2 separate regions of the Homo sapiens genome follow, and region 2 is linked to region 1. Evidence: promoter capture Hi-C in 16 types of primary human blood cells and fetal thymus (Javierre and others, 2016). All regions are on one chromosome and are shown on one strand. Each heading gives the region's core, a stretch centred on a gene start or on the middle of the fragment in contact. The rest is flanking DNA. Distances are from core to core; before and after follow the strand shown. Region 1 holds the start of RNF122 (ring finger protein 122). Region 2 overlaps TACC1 (transforming acidic coiled-coil containing protein 1).

Region 1 (5,491 bases), core at 643-3,142:
TTTTCAGGAAATGAGATCCGACCAGCAAAAGGAGGAAGGCGGGGTGGGGGGATGTGGGGTATACATGCTACCCAAACCCTGCCTCAAAACAAAGCCTCTTGACATAATTAATCCAAGATCTGGCAGGAGTCTACTCTAAAGAATGATTTTTTTCCCCCTGTAACTAGCTCGCTTGCCATACTGAGAGATAAGGCCAGCTGCTTCCCATCTCTCTCTCCCAGAAACTCTCCAAGCATCGGAACAACGCGGTCAAGACTAGGACCCCAGGAGGACTGGAGCGGGTGGGGTGGGGGGCGATTAGTATCCAAGGTTTTGAAGTGTCCCGCTCAGAAACACCTACCTTTCAGGTAGCTCGCTGAGGAATCAGACTCCAGCCTAACCCAGTATCACCTGAACCTCCAAAAAGCCTCAGGTGAAATGAACTAACTTAGAAGCATCACCCAGGCCTGGGGAGAAATGGGGCGAGGGGTTGTCGCGTCTGGAGGTGTGGCCTTCACTTGGGCTCAGGAGCAGACACCCTAATCTGGCCTTGTGGCCAGAAACACGGCTCCCGCCAGGCCAGCCTCGCACCCCAGGGACAGCCGGGCGCGGAGCTCTCTGCGAGGGTTTATCAACTCAGGAAAACGGCTTTTTTTTAGATGGAGTTTCGCTCTTGTTGCCCAGGCTGGAGTGTAATGGCACGATCTAGGCTCACTGCAATCTCCGCCTCCTGGGTTCAAGCGATTCTCCTGCCTCAGCCTCCCAAGTAGCTGGGCTTACAGGCATGCGCCACCACTCCCGGCTAATTTTGTATTTTTAGTAGAGACGGAGTTTCTCCATGTTGGTTAGGCTGGTCTCGAACTCCCGACTTCAGGTGATCCGCCCGCCTCGGCCTCCCAAAGTGCTGGGATTACAGGCGTGAGCCACCGCGCCTGGCCGAAAGCGACTCTTTAATCCAGTCTTCCGCAAGCACCCAAGCCACGCCAGCAGCCCGTGGGAAACCAACAAAGCCAGAGGAAGCTACCCCCGCGCCCAGTCCCGCACGCTGCACGGTATACATATTTACAATAGCCTGCAAAGTTTCAGGCCGGGAACTTGAGCTCCCTCTAGGAGATCCCAGCCCGAGTGCGGATTTAATTCTCCTCCAACAACCACAACAAAGAACAGAGTTTGAGCGCACAAAGGCAGGGGAAGGGGGTAGAAGAGCCGGGCCGCCACACAAAGGCCGGGAACCCCTCGGCTCCCACGCCCCCGGCCCGCCGCCAGTCCGGAGGCCCCTTCCAGGCTCTGGAGTGAAACCTGGATAGTTTCAAATTCCGCGCTGTGCAGAGCAGAGTGGGGCGCCAAGACGCCTTCTCGACTGTCCCATTTCAGGAGAAACTTGGTTCCCGAGGGAGGACCAGCGCGCTGCTGTCCGACCTCGCACCCCGCGCCGCGGCTCCCACCAGCCCCACGTAGGCTCGGCCCTCGCCCCGGGGACTCACCGTTACACCACTGGAATGGGTGCATCAATGAAGTCGCGGTTGGCTTCCTCGGGCGAACGGACGCAGGCGGGGTGCCAGGAGGGCGGGGTGGGAGCACTAGCGGCGTGAGGGGCCGCAGGCGGGGTCGGGGCAGCGCGCTGCAGCCGCCCTGCTGGAGAAGCCGAACTCCCTCCGGAGTGGGGGGCTTTGACGAGGCTGGTGTTCAGCCCAACAAAGAGGGACGAGGAGGAAACAAACAAAGTCCCGCGGAGCACAGCCGCACGGAGCGCACGCGCCAAGGGCCCCGGGCTGGGGGAATGTGGGGCGCCGCGGGGCGGGGGTGCCCGGGCTGCAGAAGCCCTCGGCCGGGGGAGGAGGGAAAAACCTTTGCCGGAGGCTCGGATCGGGTTCAGCGGCGCAGAGGTGAGCTGGCTGGGGTTCCGAAACTGACACCCGGCGGTGCACACCCCCTCCCTTTTACTTCCCCCACCAGTCCCCAGGAAAACTCCGCCCCTTGTTCGTCACCCTCCCTCCGACCAATCGGAGCCTTTCTCCTGCCCCCGGCTATTATTTGCAGGCCCAGCCTCCCTTCCCTGGAAGCCGGGAGGATCTTCGCACGGTGGGCGCCTCCCACTTAGTCTTCCCAGGCCTGGGGAAACTTCGGTCTGCAGAGAATGGAGCGGCGACGAGCGATGCCCCGGAGTGGGGGCCTGCCTTTTGCCCAGGGACACCAAGGCAAAGGAACAATTACTGCCACATTGTTTTCCGCCTACAGATCTGTTATTTATTTACTTATGTATTTGGAGGCAGAGTCTGCCTCTATCGCCAAGGCTGGAGTGCAGCGGCGCGATCTCAGCTCACTGCAACCTCTGCCTCTCGGGTTCAGGTGATTCTCCTGCCTCAGCCTCCTGAGTAGCTGGGATTACAGGCGCTTACCACCATGCCCAGATAATTTTTGTATTTTTAATAGCGACGGGGTTTCGCCATGTTGGACAGGCTGTTCTCGAACTCCTGGCCTCAAGTGATCCTCCTGCTTCAGCCTTCCAAAGTGCTGGGATTATAGGCGTGAGCCACCGCTCCCGGCCCTCTTTTTCTTTTTTGAGTTAGAGTCTTGCTCTGTCACTCAGCTGGAGTGCAGCGGTGCAATAATAGCTTACTGCAGCCTCCAACTTCTGGGCCCAAGCAGTCCTGCCACCTTAGCCTCCCAAGAAACTGGGACCACAGGTGCCTGCCACCAAGCCCAGCTACTTTTTAATTGTTTTGTATAGATGAGTGGCCTCACTATGTTGCTCAGGCTGGTCTCGAACTCCTGGACTCAAGTGATCCTCCCGCCTGAGCCTCCCAGATTGCTGGGATTACAGGCATGAGCCATGGCACCCAGGACATTTCATTTCTTAATTGGATAATTGCAAAAGCTTCCTAACTGGCCATTCTGATTCTAGTCTATAGCTCAGACTTCAGAGCCTACAAGAATCACTCCTATGTTTGAGATGTAACATGCAGATTCCCAGGCCTTGAACCCAGAGATTCTGATTCAATAAAGGGTGGACCCAGAAATTTTCATTTTAATGTGCCTTGTCTTCCCCACCCCTCAAATTCTCATGCGGCTATTGAAAGAAACAGTGCTCTGATTTCACTCTCAAGTCCATCCCTTCTGGTCACAATTATCTCTGTAAAATGTAAATCTGAACATTTCTTTGCTTGATAACGTTTGTTGGTCTCCAGTGTTTACTGAATAAAGTTCTGTAAACTAGAGTGTGGCATTCAAAATGTTTCAGTCTAGACTCACTCCTATAATCTCAAAACTTCGGGAGGCTGAGGCGGGCAGATTGCTTGAGCTCAAGAGTTTGAGACCATCCTGGGCAACATGGTGAAGCCACCTGTAAAAAAAATACAAAAATTAGCTGGGCCTGGTGGTGCGCACCTGCGGTCCCAGCTACTCTGGTGGCTGAGGTGGGAGAATCACTGGAGTTCGAGAAGTCGAGGATGCAGCTGCAGTGAGCTGTGATTGTGCCACTGCACTCCAGCCTGGGCGACAGAATGAGACTACTCTGTTTCAAAAAGAAAAAAGAAAAAACTATTAAAATAAAGTGTTTCAGTCTAGCCTTATTTGTTTCAGTCTTCCTCATACTCAAATACTCCCCTTCACCACACACTATTCATCAGCCATGAAGCTTTTTGTTGTTACTCTTCCTTGAACATAGGCTGTGTATATTCTTTTTTGTTGTTGTTTTTATTTATTTAGAGACAAGGTCTGGTTCTGTTGCCCAGGTTTGAATGCAGTTGCATGATCTTGGCTCACTACAACCTCCACCTCCTGGGTTCAAGCCATCCTCCCACCTCAGCCTCCTGAGTAGCTGGCACTACAGGCACTCACCACTATGCCCGGCTAATTTTTTTTTTTTTTTTTTTTTTGTAGAGACTGGGTTTAGCCACGTTGCCCAGGCTGGTCACAAACTCATGAGCTCAGGCTATCTGCCTGCTTCAGCCTCCCAAGTGCTAGGATTAATGGGGGAGGCTATACATGTGTGGGGCTGGGGGTGTATCAGAACTCTGTACCTTCTTCTCAATTTTGCTGTGAACCTAAAACTACGCTGAAAAATAAAGTCTTTAAAAAAAAAAGTGTGCATAATGGTAACTATTGTTCTTTCTATTCATTGGCTCGGGGGAGAGATGTGATGGGTAATCCTAATTTTATTAAGGCTCTCCTGCTAACTGCCTCCAGCGCCAGACTGTGAAAGAAGGAGAGCCTTTGAAGGGAAAATTGATGGGAAGTGAGGAACACCTCCCGTCCCACTCGCCTTTGGACTAGAGGTTCTTGGAAGGAAAACACCCTTAAAGGTAGGAATGATGGAAATTCTTCTTTTTTTGAAACGGAGTCTTGCTCTGTGTCGCCCAGGCTGGAGTGCAGTGGCTTGATCTCAGCTCACTGCAGCCTTCGCCTCCCAGGTTCAAGTGATTCTCCTGCCTCAGCCTCCTGAGCAGCTAGGATTACAGGTGCAACAATTTATATTTTAAGCCTGATATTTTAAGCATTCAATAAGATCTCCAGAGGCACTTAAGGACTCCAATTTCGAAAAACTGCTGTATCCCTTCACACTCTCCTCCCTTCGTCCCTCCTGGCCAGTGTGGCCACAGGACCTCAACTGATGGCTGACATTGGGAGTTATATGTTGGTAGAAGGGCTTTGGTTCTGGGCATCTTTGAAATGATTGGTTCAGTCCCAGCATTTTCCTGGACTGAAGGGTTCTATGAAAGATAAGCTGATTTCTCACACCATGTCAACCAAATTTAGATCTCTCACTCCTCCACCCTCACCACCAGGTGACTCAGCTCCACATGAGTCAGGAAGACTAGTTTGGTTTATTGAGGAAGAAACTGAAACAGTAAAGAAGATGATGGGCCATATATTCAAAGCTACTTGATAAATATGAGGTAGAAATATGTTTCTAGGATGGGTGTGGTAGCTCACACCTCAGCACTTTGAGAGGTTGAGGTGAAGGAGCTTGAGCCAGGAGTTGGAGACCAGCCTGGACAACATAGCAAGACCCCATCTCTACAAAAAATAAACATCAGCTGGGCATGGCGGCACATGCCTGTAGTCCCAGCTACTCCAGAGGCTGAGGTGTTCAAGGCTGCAGTGAGCTATGATTGTGCCACTAGACACTAGCCTGAGCAACAGAGCAAGACAAAAGAAAAGAAAAGAAAGAAATATGTTTTAAAATCTTCCATGGAAAGGGAAAAAATAATACTAAACTTCCGGAAAAACTTTTTTTTAAAATTAATTAATTTTTTTATACAGGGTCTTGCTCTGTCACCCAGTGGTGCAGTGGTGACATCTCGGCTCACTGCAACTTCCACCTCCCAGGCTCAAGCGATCCTCCCACCTCAGCCTCCCGACCAGCTGGGACTACAGGCGCATACTACCATGCCTGGCTAATTTTCTGGGGTTTCGCCATGTTGCCCAGGCTGGTCTCAAACTCTTGAACTCAGGCAATCCCTCAGCCTTGGCCTCCCAAAGTGCTGGGATTACAGGCAGGAGCCACCGT
Region 2 (5,337 bases), core at 1,996-4,495, 5.2 Mb after region 1:
AATCCTTTGTGTTCTTTGGCTTGTGGCAGCAGAACTCCAGTCTCTGTCTCAACACATGGCCATCTTCTCCCTATGTATCTGTCTTACCGTGCCCTTCCTGTGAGGACACCAGTCGTTGAAGTTAGGGCCCACCCTAATCCAGTTTGACCTCATCTTAACTTGGTAACATCTTCAGAGATACTATTTCTAGATAAGGTCACATTCATAGGTACTAGGAGTTGGGACTTTAACATATCATTTTGAGAGACATAATTCAGCCCACAACAGAGAGCTTTGAACAGAGGGATTGTGATTCAGCTTCTTTTGTAAAAGGCTCCCTGGGCTGCTGTGTGGAGAAGGGACTCTAGGATGGAAGTCCTTTTTATGTGGTTTCTCTGTTCCAGTATCTGGCACTGTCACCCTGAAGTGGCAGCGCCAGCTTTCAGTTATCTAGCTACCTAAACTTTGTGCTGATTGTGACTTTCTCCTCTCCCTAATAAGTATTTTTATTGCTTAGCAACTTCTTCGTAGGTTGCCTAGGGAAGTCAAGTTACTCTGGTAATAGACTGCATGATGGAGCTGGAATTATTGGTAAAATGACATCAGCAAAAAGCTGATTTGGTTTTGCTTTAAATTGATAGCTCCATGCTGTGCTTACCCAGCTGAGAATTCAGCAATACCCTCAACTTGCCCTAGGCTGCATTTTGCCATTGTTCTAGGCAGGGACAACATGGGAATAGGCAAGCTTATATACTGGAGAATTTGTGTGCGACGCATAGCTGTGTAGCACTCTCAGTGATGAAGATAACACTTATTCCTCATAGCTTCCCTTTTCTTCCGTAAAGATTGGCAGATCAGAAGGGAGATTTTGAAGCTTGAAAGAACTATTTGGTGGCCTTTCCATCAAATTTAAATAAAGCTCATAAGACACATGTTAAGGAGCTGTTTGAAAGCCTTTTTGAATTGCCATCAGCTTGGGCGGCCCTTCCTCATCGTTTTGTCAGCTGCTAGACTGATTCATCCCGCCAGATTCTTTGCCAATTGAATAGAGGCCTGGATGACCTAGGCCCCCAAAACCACAGAGACCCAATTGTTTGGTCCTTCCTGTACCAGTGACTCTCACATTTTTTTCATTCTCTCTAAAAGGAAAACTTTTAAATGTTTATGGATCATGAAGGCTCTATGGGGTAGTTCATGAATGCAGACTGTAATTGTAGGGGTAGAGGAGTGTCCAGTCCAGGAAACAACCCTGCATATTATGAAGGCTTTCAGTTTAGGGTCTTTAAACAATAGGATGATTGCTCATCAACCTGGTCGTACCCTGACTTCCAGGGTCCTTGGGTGCAACATCCGGAGCTAGTCCAGAGTACCGCCAATGGCCTTGTCACACATACACAGCAAATGTGCAAAGACAGCCAGAGCACAGGTCTGCCTGGAGAGGATTTCAGTGGGCAGAAAGCCCTTCAGAGTCATTTCATATTGAAGTTTAATTTCTGGGACTGGATAAGTTCCCTTTCTCCCAAAATTATTGATTGTTTTGTTCCTGGTAAAGATAGTCTTTCATACTTTTGTGGTTCCAAGACATGGTTGGACCGCAGTTATAAATTATATAAGACTAAATCATTCTGGAAGAATGATTTACGAGGAGTTAGTCAGGAGTTGGAGTTGAAATATGTAAACATTCTGGCTTCCTGGTACATAATGGCCCTCAAACGTGTGGGCTACATTTACCATACCCATGGCTCCTGTGCTGACTTCTGTATAGTTCTTTGAACTCAGGGAAACATCTAAGACTATTTTGAAATGACTTTTCTTATACTGGAACTGCTTTAGGAACTTGCAGTATCTAAACTCTATAATGACTCTTCCTAAGAGTTGTATGCCAGGAGTTAAGTGGCGGATAAGGTTGTAGATTTTTTTTGAAGCCACATATAGAAGCAGGTTTTAGGCTTACTGGTAAAATAAAACTCTAGCTAAAGATATTTCCTGGAAATAACCAGACTGGTAGCTGTAAAGCTTGGGCTGGTCTGTATTTGCTATCTGTCTGTTTTCTCCCACTAAAGTTGTTTAATGCTGCTGCTGTTGTGGTGGTCTTTCTCTTTGCTGGGAAATATATTGGTGAAGAAACATCCTCTAGGAATGGACTTTTGAGGAGGTACAATCTCAAGTTCATCCTCTGTTTTGTTTTGCTTTGAGACAGGATCTATGTCTAGACTGGAGTGCAGTAGTATGATCATAGCTTACTGCAGCCTCCAACTCCTGGGCTCAGATGATCCTCCTGCCTCAGCCTCCTGAGTAGCTGGGACTATAGGCACACACTACCATGCCTGGCTAATTTTTTGTTTTGTTTTGTTTTTTGAGATAGAGTCTCGCTCTGTTGCCCTGGCTGAAATGCAGTGGTGCGATCTCGGCTCACTGCAAGCTCCGCCTCCTGGGTTCACGCCATTCTTCTGCCTCAGCCTCCCAAGTAGCTAGGACCACAGGCGCCCACCACTACGCCCAGCTAATTTTTTGTATTTTTAGTAGAGACGGGGTTTCACCGTGTTAGCCAGGATGGTCTCGATCTCCTGACCTCGTGATCCGCCCGCCTTGGCCTCCCAAAGTGCTGGGATTACAGGCGTGAGCCACCACGCCTGGCCAGTTTTTTTATTTTTTGTAGAGATAGGGTCTTGCTATGTTGCCTAGGCTGATCTCGAACTCCTGGCCTAAAGGGATTCTCCTGCCTCACCCTCCCAAAGTCCTGGGATTACAGGCGTGAGCTACCATGCCTGGCTTTTGTGTTTGCATGTGTGTTTATGGAGGACTTAGGGGTTGTGGCTTTGTGTAGCTGTTTCAGTCACAAAAACTGCAGTGGGTGCCCTCTGCCCCTTGAGTTTCTCCTTCACCAACATAGCCCCCCTTCCCCAAACACACACACCTTTATCTACAGATTGTTACCTCTCTCTGAGAAAGAGAATCTTAATTAGTGTAGAAGCTCTCACATCACCCTTGGAACAACTCGTTAAACCTCTCCAGTTTGATGTGTTAATTAAATGCCTAGGTATTTCAAACACAAACTGTAGTTCTCTGGACTTTTCCCCAGAATAGAAGAAAAGAGATAAATGGGATCTGTGCACAGATATTTACTGCCTCAGGCCTGTGAGGGAATGCCAAGTTGTTTGTTGACACAATTTTGGTAGTCTCGATCAGAATCAGCAAACTGTGACTCATAGACCAAGCCCTGCCTGTCCTGTTTTTTTGCATGGCCCTGAACAGAAGAATGAGTTTTACATTTTTTGATGGTTTAATGGTGATGTGTGAAAATAATGTGAAATCCAAATTTCAGGGCCCATCAATGGTCACACGATTATGTGAATTTACTAAAAACCATTGCATCATATATTTTAAAGGGTGGACTGTATGGTTTGTGAATTATATCTCAATAAAGTAGTTCTTAAAAAAAAACAAAACAAAATTTCAGGGCCCATCAAGTTATATATATATGAAATATATATTTTGGTAGATATGGGGTCTTGCTATGTTGCCCAGGCTGATCTTGAGCTCCAGGGCTCAAGTAAGTGATCCTCCCACCTCAGCCTCCCAAAATGCTGGGATTTCAGGTTTGAACCACCACTGTCATCCCCATAAATAAAGTTATTGGAATACAGCCATACTCATTCATTCATGTATTGTCTATGGCTGCTTTTGCTCTACAATAGCTGGGTTGAGTACTTGGAACAGAGACCAAATGTCTGGCAAAAGTCTAACATATTTACTATCTTGTACAGAAAAAAAATGTCAACCTACATCTATACTTATTACAATTTCAGTAAAAATACAGAGTTTAAGTAATTTGGGAAAATGGCTTTAAGAATGAAAAGGTGCAAGGTTATACCTGCTGAACAAATGAACTGTGGGCGTGAGGTGCCATTAGTCTAGGCCTGCATGTTCAGGGAAGGCCCAGGGGAGAGCCTGATGTGGCCTGGCTATTTGTCATATTTGCAAAGGGGAAGTGATGTAATTGGTCTGCAATGAACTTGATTTTCAATTGACTCAAAGATCTAAGGAGGAATAAAAATTATTTAAAAAGGAAATTAGGGAAGAATGGGGAGAATATTGGAATCATTTAATAGAAGTACAAACACATAGACTTTTAACTTTTGCCCATTAAATTTTTTTTAACATTTTATTTTCTTAAATTTTTTTTAAAAAAATAGTGATGGGGTTTCACTGTGTTGCCCAGGCTGGTCTCGAACTCCTGGGCTCAAGTGATCCTCCCACCTTGGCCTCCCAAAGTGTTGGGGTTACAGGCATGAGCCAGCCTCACCCAACCCATTAAATGTCTTTAATGTAACTTCGGGTGTATGAGAATTTGTAAGTTGACTGTGCAGATCTCTTAAAAGGTTGATATGGTGTATTTTTAGAATGTTTTAGACTGCACGTGTGTGTGTGTTTGTTTGTGTGTGTGTGTGTGTGCGTGCTATAGAAAACACAGCATGGAAACCTTGTTAAAATCAGAGGCTTTGATTTTTTATTCTAAAGCTTTGAGTTATATGTTTAATCAGATACTATGTGAAAAATTTTCATTAGGTACATATTGAAGTGTTCCATTCAAGTCTACAAGTATATCCTCCTAAGGATTTAGTTTAACATCCTTTCCCTGCTCCAACAAGGGAATGCTTTATTAGAGTTTCCTAGAAATAATGGGACTAATTAGGACCTTTCATATTACCTAGTCCAGCAGTCCAACCCATGTGGCTCCTTCAACAGCATCGCAGCCTAATGCTTTTAATTTAATTTTAAATTTTTAATGTTTTGCTGTGATTGCCTCTTCCACAGTTTGATTTTTTTGTACTGTATAATTCCATGTTAAGGTATTTAAAGCTTGAAAATCTTAGCATGATATAGCTACTTTGTTTTTTCATGTATTTTTAGCTCTGAAGTTGGAGATTCCAACCAGCTAATAAATGAGATCAGAGTCATGTGTTTTTTTGTTGTTGTTGCTCTATCACAATGTAAATGTGCCCCTAGGAAGCACCTGCTTCTATATGGTGCCTTACCCAAGGGAGTGTCTTCCTGGGGAAAAAAGTGTAGTTTTTCCAGCAGAAACTTGTGAGAGTGCAGAACCACAGAGGAGCAACAGTGTCTGAATAAAAAATTCCAGGGCAGGGAAGCAAAGTCTACCTGCAGAAAGGAAAGATTTTAGTAACTATCAAATCACAATTTTTCTTTTAAGATGAGTGACAAAATCAAGACCTTGCACTCCCCCATTTTGGGCTTACCCAAGCATCGAATAAAGCAGTAGAACTTACTTTGGTACTTGCGGGTGGCAGAGACACTTTCTACCTGTGTATGTGTTTTGGGAGCCGGCAGTCCTTC

The links. Contacts are between HindIII fragments. The CHiCAGO score rates a contact against its expected background, and 5 or more counts as called.
Region 2: a contact is called between a fragment that was not itself captured here and the fragment with the promoter of RNF122 in region 1, in 1 of 17 cell types (M2 macrophages). The highest score is 5.0, in M2 macrophages.

Annotation. Positions count from the first base shown.
Region 1 is chr8:33,565,236-33,570,726 of GRCh38, forward strand. RNF122 (ring finger protein 122) reads right to left here and starts at 1,893. Exons shown (of 6, transcript NM_024787.3): 1 at 1,464-1,893. The coding sequence starts at 1,488. RefSeq lists silencers at 1,268-1,317, 1,458-1,507, 1,538-1,607, 1,658-1,777. The HindIII fragment of the contact is 8,620 bases long and covers 1-2,855 here.
Region 2 is chr8:38,790,147-38,795,483 of GRCh38, forward strand. All of the region lies in intron 2 of TACC1 (transforming acidic coiled-coil containing protein 1), which reads left to right. Among named protein-coding and RNA genes, the nearest start is that of TACC1, 5.6 kb to the left of the region's middle. RefSeq lists an enhancer at 3,825-4,119. The HindIII fragment of the contact is 2,505 bases long and covers 1,994-4,498 here.